Linked DNA regions of Homo sapiens: regions 2, 3 and 4 are each linked to region 1. Evidence: promoter capture Hi-C in 16 types of primary human blood cells and fetal thymus (Javierre and others, 2016). All regions are on one chromosome and are shown on one strand. Each heading gives the region's core, a stretch centred on a gene start or on the middle of the fragment in contact. The rest is flanking DNA. Distances are from core to core; before and after follow the strand shown.

Region 1 (2,645 bases), core at 87-2,586:
CTCAGGAGGCTGAGGCAGGAGAATCGCTTGAATCCGGGAGGCGGAGGTTGCAGTCAGCCGAGCTTGTGCCACTGCACTCCAGCCTAGGCGACAGAGCGAGACCCTGTCTCAAAAATAAATAAATAAGTAATAAAAACAAATGTATATCATTCATTTGAAACATTAGAGACGTGGGTGGTTTTGTTCTGTTCTGTTTCCACATCTGCAACCATGCGTCTTGTGCACCTACCCGGGGCAAATACCTCCGACTCCATCACAGTCTTGACAAGAGGTTGAAGTGTGCAGATTGATTCCAGTTGCACCAATAAGCTTTGGGAACATATGATCCCCCCCCCCCCAACTCTGTACTGTCTTCTGTACTGCCTTCCGACCTTCTTTCTACACATTCCCATCATATTTTTCCCCAACTTTCTGCCTTCTTTCTCTTCCTTTACCACAAAGCCTCTGCACCTTGCTAGTGGCGCCAAAGTTTGGAAAAGCAGACAAGTCCACTTAATGTTCCACAGTATAGAAACTGGCCTACGCCGGGCGCAGTGGCTCACGCCTGTAATCCCAGAACTTTGCGAGGCCGAGGCGGGTGGCTCACGAGGTCAGGAGTTCGAGACCTACCTGGCCAACATGGTGAAACCCCGTCTCTACTAAAAATACAAAAATTAGCCGGGCGCGGGGGCGGACGCCTGTAATCTTAGCTACGCGGGAGGCTTAGAGAGGAGAATGGATTGAACCCGGGAGGCGGAGGTTGCAGGGAGGCGGAGGTTGCAGTGAGCCGAGATCGCGCCACTGCACTCCGGGCTGGGTGACAGAGCAAGACTCAGTCTCAGAAAATAAATACATAAAATAGAAATAGGCGCTCGGTCAATACTTGAACGAAAGGAGGAACTCCGCACAGAGCCTGGCGTCCAGGTCGGTCAAACTCAACCCTGGGGCCCCAGGGCTGGGCACCTTGAGCGGCAACGTGGCCAAAACCCTAACCCCGGGCACCCAGCCCTGCTAACGTCTAACCCTCTGTCCCATTGCCTTTAGAGGTCGCAGCGTAATCGGGAATGCCTGGGGCTCCCTCCCAGAGCGGGTCGCCCCAGCGATCACAACAGCTTCAGATGCGCTGCCAAGCGATTGGTCCAGGCAGCGCCAAGCGCCGACCAGCTCACCCGCACCGCGCCCGCGCCGGCGCGTCACTCCCAGAGACGTCACAACCGGTCGGAGCCCAGCGAGCAGCCGGAGTTGAGCTGGACGCTGAGGGGGGGGCGGGGCCCTGACGCGCGGGGCGGGGAAGGGAGGGGCTTCGGTGGGGCGGGGCCCTGACAGGCCGAGCTCGCGGGCGACTGCCGGCCAGGCAGACGCTGCAGCTAAGCTGCGCGGTGGCTGTGGCAGGTGAGAGCCTCCGGAAGGGAGGCGGCCTCTGGCCCCGACCCTGCTCCGCGATCGCCCACTCGGGCGCCCGGCCGGGCCTGGCAGGGAAGGGCCGCCGCCGCCGCCGCGCGTTTGCGAGGCCTGGCGGGGCCGCGGGGCCCAGGAATGGCGTAAGGGGCCCCCCCAGACTCCGAGACGGCCCGAGCGGGTCGCCGGCTGTGGGACGGCGGCGTGCCCTTCCTTTCCTCCCTCCCAGGTTCGCGCCCGAGCTCTGCTAGCCACCCGTCCGACAACTTCCGGACTCCCAGGTAGGGAGGAGCCCCTGTTAGCACTGCCAGTTACCCCGAACACTTGGCCGTTTTGGAAGGGCCGGGACTCCCTCCCCTGCCTTGTGGGTGCATCTGCTCAAACTCTGTCGGCCCCTCAAGCAGAAATGGTGTGGGATCTGGGCCAAACCCCTCTTGGAGTGACTCAGAGCCGCCAGCCCTACTGGAGGGATGGGGCATGGGGTGGATGGCCCCTAGCCTTTCCCTTCTGAGCTGGTTTGTATCACCCCGGTGGCTTCAGTCCTGGTGCCTTCATCTTAGCTCCTGTACTTTGCCTCTCCCACCCCACTGGTTTTCCTGCCTCCCTCTTCAGAGGTAAGACACATGGCTGGACCAAGGCCTCCAGGGTAAGTGACCCGAACTTCAAGCCAGCAGAGGCCATGTCATCCTAAGCTAGGGATAGGGGAGGCTCGCCGGGATGAGCCTTTGGCTTAACCTAACCTCTGCTCCCTACTTCTGCCTCACCCCAGTCTCAGATGACGGGAGGCCAATGCCAAAGACGGATAGGATCTATAGAGGCAGTCCTCTTCTAGGACTGGGACACAACAGTGCATGAGGCAACTGACAGGGGTGATGTAAAGCTGTTGTGTCTCCATCCTGGTTGCCCCAGTTCTAGCAGGTGATGTGACACTACGGTGGTCGCTGCCCAGATTGAGAAGTGGAAGGGGGTGTTGCTGGCCGCTAGAAACACTCATAATTCCACTGAGTTTGAGGCTCTGGTAGGGGCGCATGTGGGCATGGGAAGGAGCCCTGCACTCTGAGCACAGCCTCTCAGATGTAACGCAGTGGCTCTGGGAGGTCAAAGTCTCAGCCCAGTGGGAGCTCTGACAAAAGGAGGAGAAACCCCCCCAGTAGACATGTGGCTCTGTCTGATCCACTCCTGCCGCCCCTTCTGGCAACTTCCCTGGGGAGGGAGGACCTGCTTCCCAGCAGGACCTTCATCGAGTCACTGTAGGGGCAGGTAGAGTG
Region 2 (2,645 bases), core at 73-2,572, 450 kb after region 1:
TGTTCACCTGGAGCTGTAGCCACCACCCTGCCCTTAGGTTAACTGCCTCGAGTGGTAGTTTAGCTCTTTGTGCTGTGCCGAGGGATAACTGGAAGTGAAAGGTGCTGAGAAATGCCATCTCCTGAAAGTGGCGAGCATGAGTGAATTTACGAAAGGTTGGGATATTGCTGGGGCTCTGGAAGTTTCTCTGGAGCTCACTCCAGGGGACAGGGAGGGGGCTGGATTCCAATTCAAGTGAAAAATACCTTTCATCTGCCTTGTTCACCTGGCTTTTTTGCCTTTTTGTAAAATCTGAAAACCTCAGGGATTGAGTAGTCTTTCCTTAACTGCAGTTGCCTGTCTGGCCACACCTGCCAGCTGTTGCTTGTACCCCTGTAATTTGCACGGCCTTCCGGGCCTTTCTCACAAGATCACTGCAGGTCACATTCATGAGGAAAATGCAGGCAGTTCCTGCCATCAGACCCCTCAGGATGTCATGGTTTGGCCTGAAAACAAGATTCCTGCAACTCTAATTTTCCTTTGCTAGATCAAATGAAGGATTTGATCTAATGTTTGCATTCTAGCAGCAAAATCATTGAATATTTTATTTCTTAAGAGCCTTACTTCATATTTTGTAGGTATTTTAAGATTTTGTAAAGGCCTTTCTGCTTCAACGTGTGATGTGTGCATTCTTAGAAAAAGATCTTGTGTTCTGTAAATCACACAATAAAAACATGAGTTCGTGCAGGAAAAACTGGGGCGGGGTGGATCACTCCAAACTTGTGTGGTGTGGTAACTGGAGCTCACTGATGAAACCATGAACAGTTCTGGCTGAAAGAACCCCACAGTACACTGAGGTCTGTTGGCATCGCCGCCAGCACCGCCCCGGTCCCTTTGTGCGCGCCACCACACCTGGCTAATTTTTTATTTTTAGTAGAGAGGGGGTTTCACCATGTTGGTCAGGATGGCCTCGAACTGACCTCGTGATCCGCCCACCTCAGCCTCCCAAAGTGCTGGGATTACAGGTGTGAGCCTCCGTGCCCAGCCTTCAGCTTTTTTTCTTAATGTCTTTGTGTAATATGAAGGCATTCTCTTTAATTGTTAAAAAGCTTGCCTACCACTGCTTCAAAATATTACTGTCAGTTGGCATAGCTTCTGATTATATTGATGTCATCTCCCTTCTTTTAAACATGTTACCATATTGGCACTGTATTTCCCCTAGCCCATTGATCACTTGAGAGTTAGTCATAGTCCTCGTGCTGTTTCACTCCTAAACGTTTAAGCATGCCTTTCCTAAGAGCAGACAGTACAGTTAAGACACTCAGGAAGTTTAGCAATGAGCTAACACAGAACCTTACATTTCTCCACATACCCCATAAATGCCTTTTTTAGAGCCTTTGAGCCTGGAATGCAGAGTCCAGGACTGTGTGTTGTATTCGATTGTGTCATCCCTTCAGTCTCCTTTATCAGAAATGTTCCCCCACCCCCTTGTTTTCTCTCATCATCTTGAGTCCAGACCGTGGTTGCATGGCACGCCCTCTCTGGACTCTTCCTGCTGTCTCCTCACGGTAAGCTTCAGTCTCCTACTCGTGATGCTGGTTCATCTCAGCAGCACTGAGGGGCCTGAGCTCAGTTTGGTCGTGTGTTAAGGTGGTGCCTGCCAGATTTCTCCACAGAAAAGGGCCCCGTACTTTTATTTGCTCTTCAGCCTGTGTATTCCTTCCTTTCTTGCCAGCTTGTGGGTGGCTTCTCTAGCAGCTTCTGTAAGATACTCAGTTTGGCAGTTGTAGTTGTTTCAGCAGGAGAGGTGTCTGCATACCTGACCACCACATGGCTAGAAGTCGATCCATCCTCTGGCGTAACCATCCTCCATGCTACTGTCCCTGGGGCACTGAGGCCCTCCTCAGTGACTTCCTCCACCTCATCTTCCGCCATCTCCAAGCCACCAGTGTCCAACGGACTACTGATATGTCCCAAACTCATCATTTGTTTATTCACCAATTCAGAGCCCACCTTTTTTTCAGCACTGAGCTAGCCTCTCCTTGCTAGAAGCTTACGGTCGAAGGTCTCCAGCCATCAGAAGAAGCACGTGGAGCGCTGCGTCCGTGTTGTGGTTATTCATCCAGCATGTGTTGAGTAAGGGTTGCACCTGTGCCTGGCATTATGCATTGAGCGGGGAGATGGGGGTTGGCACGCACAGTGGGGTGTTCTAAGTACACTGAGGGCTCGGGTGCCCTGGCTCATAGAGCAGGGAGGGAGGCAGGAGCAGGGAAGGTGTCTCAGAAGTGCCATCTTTTTTTTTTTTTTTTTGGGAAGTGGAATCTTGTTCTATCGCCTGGTCTGGAGTGCAATGGCACTATCTCAACTCACTGCAGCCTCCGCCTCCCAGGTTCAAGCGATTCTCATGCCTCAGTCCCCGAGTAGCTGGGACCACAGGCGCACACCACCACACCCGGCAAATATTTTGTATTTTTAGTAGAGGCGGAGTTTTGCCATGTTGGCCAGGCTGGTCTTAAACTCCTGGCCTCAAGTGATCTGCTCACCTCGGCCTCCTAAGGTGTTGGGATTACAGGCATGAGCCACTGCGCCCGGTCTAGAAGTGCCATCCTAACTGAACCTGAAAGATGAAAGTTCTCCAGATGAACCTGAAAGTTCTCCAAATGAAA
Region 3 (2,645 bases), core at 69-2,568, 430 kb after region 1:
ATTTTTATCTCTTGAATTCACTTATAAACAATTCAAAGGCTGCTTTTTTAGCTAACAGAAATAGGAAGAGAATCTCAGAATCTGTTTTGTCATTTTTTCAATGGGTTGAGTTATAGTGATTATGCTAACTCGGTGGAAAAGCAGTGTAGTGAGTAAACCCCACATACGGCATATCATGAACATTTTGTTGCTTTTTTGGCTTCTGACCATCTTCATACCTTTTTTTGTGTTAAAAGTCTCCCCATTGTGTATATCTTAGTAAGAGGCAGGTGGACCCTAGTTTCTACCTAAGAAAACCTGAAGATGGGGTTGGGGGCCTGTGGTGTACTTCCTTCTCATGCTGTCCATGACCACTGCAGTGGCTTTGTAAGGATCCAGGACCCAGGGCCCCTCAGTGGGTGTCTTCCATTTCTCAAGATTGCCTCTTGGTTGTGAGATGACGGTTGCTGCTCTAGTCATTGCATCCACTCCTCCAGGTAGGAAGAAAGAGGTCATAGGGGAAAGGCAAAATGGCACTTGACATCTTAACTTCTAGGCCCATTCAATATTTCCATTTCCATCTTCACACCCATCATCTTGTCCTAGGGAACAAACAGCACCAGCAGCTCAGTAGCTATAACAGCAATTATTATTTCTCACACATGGGTCTGGGTCAGCTGCAAGATGGGATTCAGATCTGTTCTCAAGCCTGTCGTTCCAGGACCCAGGAGGGAGAAGCAGCTGCCAGGGGAAGTCTCTTCGTAGGCGGAGGTCAGGAGTCCAAGAGGAGTGAGCAGAGTCACAGAAGCCTCTTAAAGCCTCTTCTTCCCCCATCCCATCAACACGTGAGCAAGCCCAGAGTCAGTGGGTGGGAGGTGTGCTCCGCCCATAGTCAGTAGAACAAGAGCAAGCTTGAAAGAGAACGATGAACAGGAGTGCACTCGGCCACTGTCTCCTTAGCCATAACGTAGTCCCATGGTCTGCTGGGAAGCGGGGAATAACTCTCCTTAGCTGAGCGCAGGGTCTCATTAGTAAGGCAGATGGAGAACATGGATGTTGGGGGACAACTGGCAGTGCCTGCCACAGGGGAATGGATATATTCCCTCCCCTTGCTCTCTGGAAACTAGGGGATGGCGATGAAGCCTAGGTTTGGCCAAACCCATTCTGCCTTCAGGGACTTTGACTCTTGAGGGACAGTGAGGGATTAGTCATGGTGGTGGCAGTTGAGTCACAAAACCAGCAGTGGTGGCTAATGTCCAGTGATGACATGCAACAGTGCCCAGGGTGGGTGTCCCAACCAGCAGGTCCCTGCAGTATAACCTTGGCTGTGTTTGCAGTGGTGCAGCCTCTATTCCTGCTGCTTTTCTGAGCCTAGTTCTCTAGTTCTCTCTCCATTTCCAGATCTGCTGCCCAAGAACTCCTTTGTGATTGAATTTAACCAGAGTTGATTTCTGTTGCTTGAAACTCAGGACCTTGATGCAGTGTGCAGGGTCTGGGCAAGGTAAAAACACACTTTCATGATTTCGCCTCAAGTATAGTAGATGAGCTTAGGCTTTTTGAGCCAGGTAGCCTTGGGATTAATTCTCAGCTCTTGCACCTAGCAGGTGACCTCAGCAATCAAGTCACTTGCCCTCCTTGAGCCTCAGTGTTGCCCTCAGTTAAACATTGCTCTCGTGTGTTGCTGAGCATTCAGTGAGATTGTATATAAAGTGATCATTGTGAAGGTATTGGGACATAATTTGGGAAAGCGTCCTGGTCTAAGCTTTTGATTGGCTCTCCATCATTTGGGTAATGGGATAGTGATTTAGGAGTATCATAGCAGCTCAAGGGGCCCTTCTGGAAAGGGTATGAGGAAGGTCAGGGACAAGTCTGAAATGAATCATCCTAGGCTTAATGCCTGTGACTGGGCAGTGGGTACAATTATCTCAGGCTAGTCAGTAGTCATTTATTGTGAGAATACATGGGCAGATTTTTTAATTTCCTTCTCAGTCTAGACTTGAATGCAAACAGTTCTTATTGCTAACTTACCACTAGTCACCACTAATGAACAAAGACTATGAACAGGAAATTCATAAAAGAAGAGATACAGATGGCCAATGAAGATAGGAAAAGAGTTCTGCCTGCTGGTAATCAAAGAGATGCAAACGAGAACAAAAATGATGCCTTTTCACCTACCAAATTTGTCAAGATTAAAAAGAAAGCAAAGAGCCAGCGTCAGCTGATGTTCATACCTGCACCTGCTCGGTAGCTTGCTAATGTTCTGCCTGCTCCACACGCCAGGCCAGCCTCCACGGCGCAGCCAGGTGAGGCCTTTCCTTGTATACAGGCACGTTTGGATTCACTGTTGCATAAGTGAGACATGTGCATGCTTCACAATTCAGGAAGTGCAAACTCCAGAGTGATGCAAGGTCTGAGTGTCCCTGCTGCCCTGGTCTCCCAGCTGCCTAGGCCTCTCTTCAGGGAACGGCTGCATCCAGGGTCTTGTCTGTGTCTTTTGAGGTGTTCTATGTACACGCAGACACATCTAAACCTATTTTTATTTTCCCTGCACCTGCTTGGGCTACTGTAAGCTGTTAAATTTTTTTTTCTAGGAATTTGTCCATTTTGTCTGACTAGCATAAAGTTGTTCATGTTATAGTTTATACATTTGCAACATCTGTAATTAT
Region 4 (2,645 bases), core at 57-2,556, 400 kb after region 1:
AGGCTCCATAAAAATACAGACTCACCAGTTCCTGCTTTGATGTGACATGTGACTCCCCAGAATACACCTTGCTTCTGTAGACCAGCTCCAACAGGATTCCATGGTAGCTGGGATGTTAGGGCTCAGGTAAGTAACCTTCCTTTTTTTTTTTTTAGTATATGTCCTGGTTTGGCCATCTGTTTTTTTTTTTTTTAAAAAAAAAAAAAAAAGGAAAAGAGGAAAAAAATATACTACTCTTGGACAGTATAAAAGTACCCCAAAGACTAAAGACATAACTGTGCCAAACTGTGCCATATAATAAAAAAAAGTCACTTCCCTGAGCCCTGAAAGGTCAGTGTGTGTAGGGTTACTTGGTCGCCACAGCGTGATCTGGGGGCGGGCGTCAGATTAGAGCCGGAACTGGTGATCTGCAACTTCAGTTCACCTTGAAGCAGGTCAGCTGAGCTGAGAGCGCTTGCACTGAGCCCTTTTGCGCTGCTGCTGTTGCCTTAGCGGTCTTCAGCATGTGTTTGCTTTGGTTTGGGGTAAATGGCTTAGTGGTCAACATTAGTGAGCAGTGGTAATGCATTTTCAGATATGGGAACTGGTATGTGGTTGGTTCCCTAGAAGGACACCCTCCTGAAAGCTGTCTCAGAACACCGGGGGCCATGGCTAATGTCATGTGCTTGCTACACTCCTCCCATGGTAACTAAAGAGAGTACCCAGATATACATCTGGTTCTTGGGACTCTAGAGGAGGATGAGTACTTTGTAAAAACCTGGGGGCCCCAGTCATTCTAGGTCTGACACTCAGGTGCTGTATCAGCTGCAGTTTGAACTACTTGGCACCATTGTGTGGACTTTAGTTTTGTAAAAATGAATGGTTCCTTAATTTCTCAACCTTCAGGCTCAACATCTCAAGCTGTTTGTTGTTGTTGTTGTTGTTGTTGTTTTGTTTTGTCTTTTTGATTAGTGGTCACTCCGCATTTGATGTTTTGACATGTGGATTTCAGAACTTCTGTGTGGTAAAGCAGAATGTTCCAATTGAATTTTCCCATTTTTTTTCCCCTAAGCAAAAATGTGAGTTTTCACTTATGCGGCCATTGTGATTCCGACTGAGACCCTAAGTCGTTCTTTGTTGTCTCTCTAGTGGTTTCTGACACCTCAGTGTGAAGCTGTTGTAGACATCCATAAGAAATAGCCTGCTTAGGGATTATGTGAGGGCAAGGTTTGGCTGAAGGAGAATAGAAGGTGTGGAAGGAAGCGGAAGACCAGAAGAGCATCACACTGCCTCAAGTCCCAAATTTGATTCTGCTCCTGATCCTGTGACTCAAATTGTCATTCTCTTTTACTGCTGTGGGGTGTGCTCTGGGCCCAGCTGACAGGACATTCTTTGTACTCCACGTATTTATGCTGGTGGGAGTTGTATGGCTAGTGCTTTGTGCTTTGTCTCAGAAATTGTGTGGACTAAATGTAATATGGGCAGTGAATGGGTTTCTTCTGGAAGATGTTAGGCCTGGAGGGTGGTTTGGGTTTTTACGAGTCTTTTTCTCAGATTACAGATTACGAATGGATGTTATAAAACAGGCAGTGTTGACACCATACAGTTTCTCCTAAGAAATGTACAGAGAGTTCAACCTGAGGAAGCTAATTGAAAATAAACTTTTAAAAAGAAATGTAGAAAGAGGAAATTTAAAAAGTATCTTATGAATGGGAAAGATGTAGCCATTTGAGCTTCAAAGAACTTTTGAGGGAATTCTCAAAGGACAGTACCCGTCTTTAGTAGATAAATGCTTGATATCTATTTTTCTTCTTTTACTTTTTAAAGAATTACTAAAATAATACATGGATTTATAGAAAAATCAAACCACTTAAAAATTGATCAGGTGGCTGGGCAAGGTGGCTCATGCCTGTAATCACAGCGCTTTGGGAGGCCTAGGCGGGTGGATCACCTGAAGTCAGGAGTTCGAGACCAGCCTGGCTAACACGGCGAAACCCCATCTCTATTAAAAATACAAAAATTAGCTGGCCATGGTGGCTTGAGCGTGTAGTCCCAGCTACTCGGAAGGCTGAGGCAGGAGAATCACTTGAACCTGGGAGGCGGAGGTTGCAGTGAGCCAAGATCACACCACTGAACTCCTGCCTGGGTGACAGAGTGAGACTCGGTCTCAAAAAAAAAAAAAAAAAAAAGTATCAGGTAAAAAAATGAAAGCTCCCCGCTTAATCTCTGCTCCCACTACCCAGAATAACTGCTGTTAATAGCTTAATGTAGATCCTTCTAAGTCTTCTAAGACTAAACTGTGTACTTTTTGTGTTGTAATTAACAGGAGGGTTTTTGTTTTGTTTTGTTTTTTCTTTTTTTGAGATGGAGTCTTGCTCTGTCATCCAGGCTGGAGTACAGTGGCACAATCTTGGCTCACTGCAACCTCCACCTCCTGGGTTCAAGTGATTCTCCTGCCTCAGCCTCCTGAGTAGCTGGGATTACAGGCGCCTGCCACCACACCCAGCTAATTTTTGTATTTTTAGTAGAGATGGGTTTCACCATGTTGGCCAGGCTGGTGTCGAACTCCTGACCTCAGGCGATCCACCTGCCTTGGCCTCCCAAAGTGCTGGGATTACAGGCGTGAGCCACCGTGCCTGGCCTCAGGATGGTGTTATATATACATA

The links. The method cuts DNA at HindIII sites, captures the fragments that hold promoters and counts their contacts. A CHiCAGO score of 5 or more calls a contact.
Region 2: a contact is called between a fragment that was not itself captured here and the fragment with the promoter of SLC10A3 in region 1, in 2 of 17 cell types (naive CD4 T cells and naive CD8 T cells). The highest score is 5.6, in naive CD4 T cells.
Region 3: a contact is called between a fragment that was not itself captured here and the fragment with the promoter of SLC10A3 in region 1, in 1 of 17 cell types (monocytes). The highest score is 5.8, in monocytes.
Region 4: a contact is called between a fragment that was not itself captured here and the fragment with the promoter of SLC10A3 in region 1, in 4 of 17 cell types (total B cells, activated CD4 T cells, monocytes and 1 more). The highest score is 7.7, in total B cells.

What each region holds. Positions count from the first base shown.
Region 1 is chrX:154,489,320-154,491,964 of GRCh38, reverse strand. It overlaps SLC10A3 (solute carrier family 10 member 3), which reads left to right and starts at 1,336. Exons shown (of 2, transcript NM_019848.5): 1 at 1,336-1,658. RefSeq lists a silencer at 1,104-1,613. The HindIII fragment of the contact is 4,164 bases long and covers 312-2,645 here.
Region 2 is chrX:154,039,262-154,041,906 of GRCh38, reverse strand. All of the region lies in intron 1 of MECP2 (methyl-CpG binding protein 2), which reads left to right. Among named protein-coding and RNA genes, the nearest start is that of MIR718, 21 kb to the right of the region's middle. RefSeq lists an enhancer at 359-859. The HindIII fragment of the contact is 464 bases long and covers 1,091-1,554 here.
Region 3 is chrX:154,056,578-154,059,222 of GRCh38, reverse strand. The region is part of intron 1 of MECP2 (methyl-CpG binding protein 2); the gene reads left to right. Among named protein-coding and RNA genes, the nearest start is that of MIR718, 38 kb to the right of the region's middle. The HindIII fragment of the contact is 851 bases long and covers 893-1,743 here.
Region 4 is chrX:154,089,665-154,092,309 of GRCh38, reverse strand. The region is part of intron 1 of MECP2 (methyl-CpG binding protein 2); the gene reads left to right. Among named protein-coding and RNA genes, the nearest start is that of MECP2, 6.7 kb to the left of the region's middle. The HindIII fragment of the contact is 6,480 bases long and covers 1-2,645 here.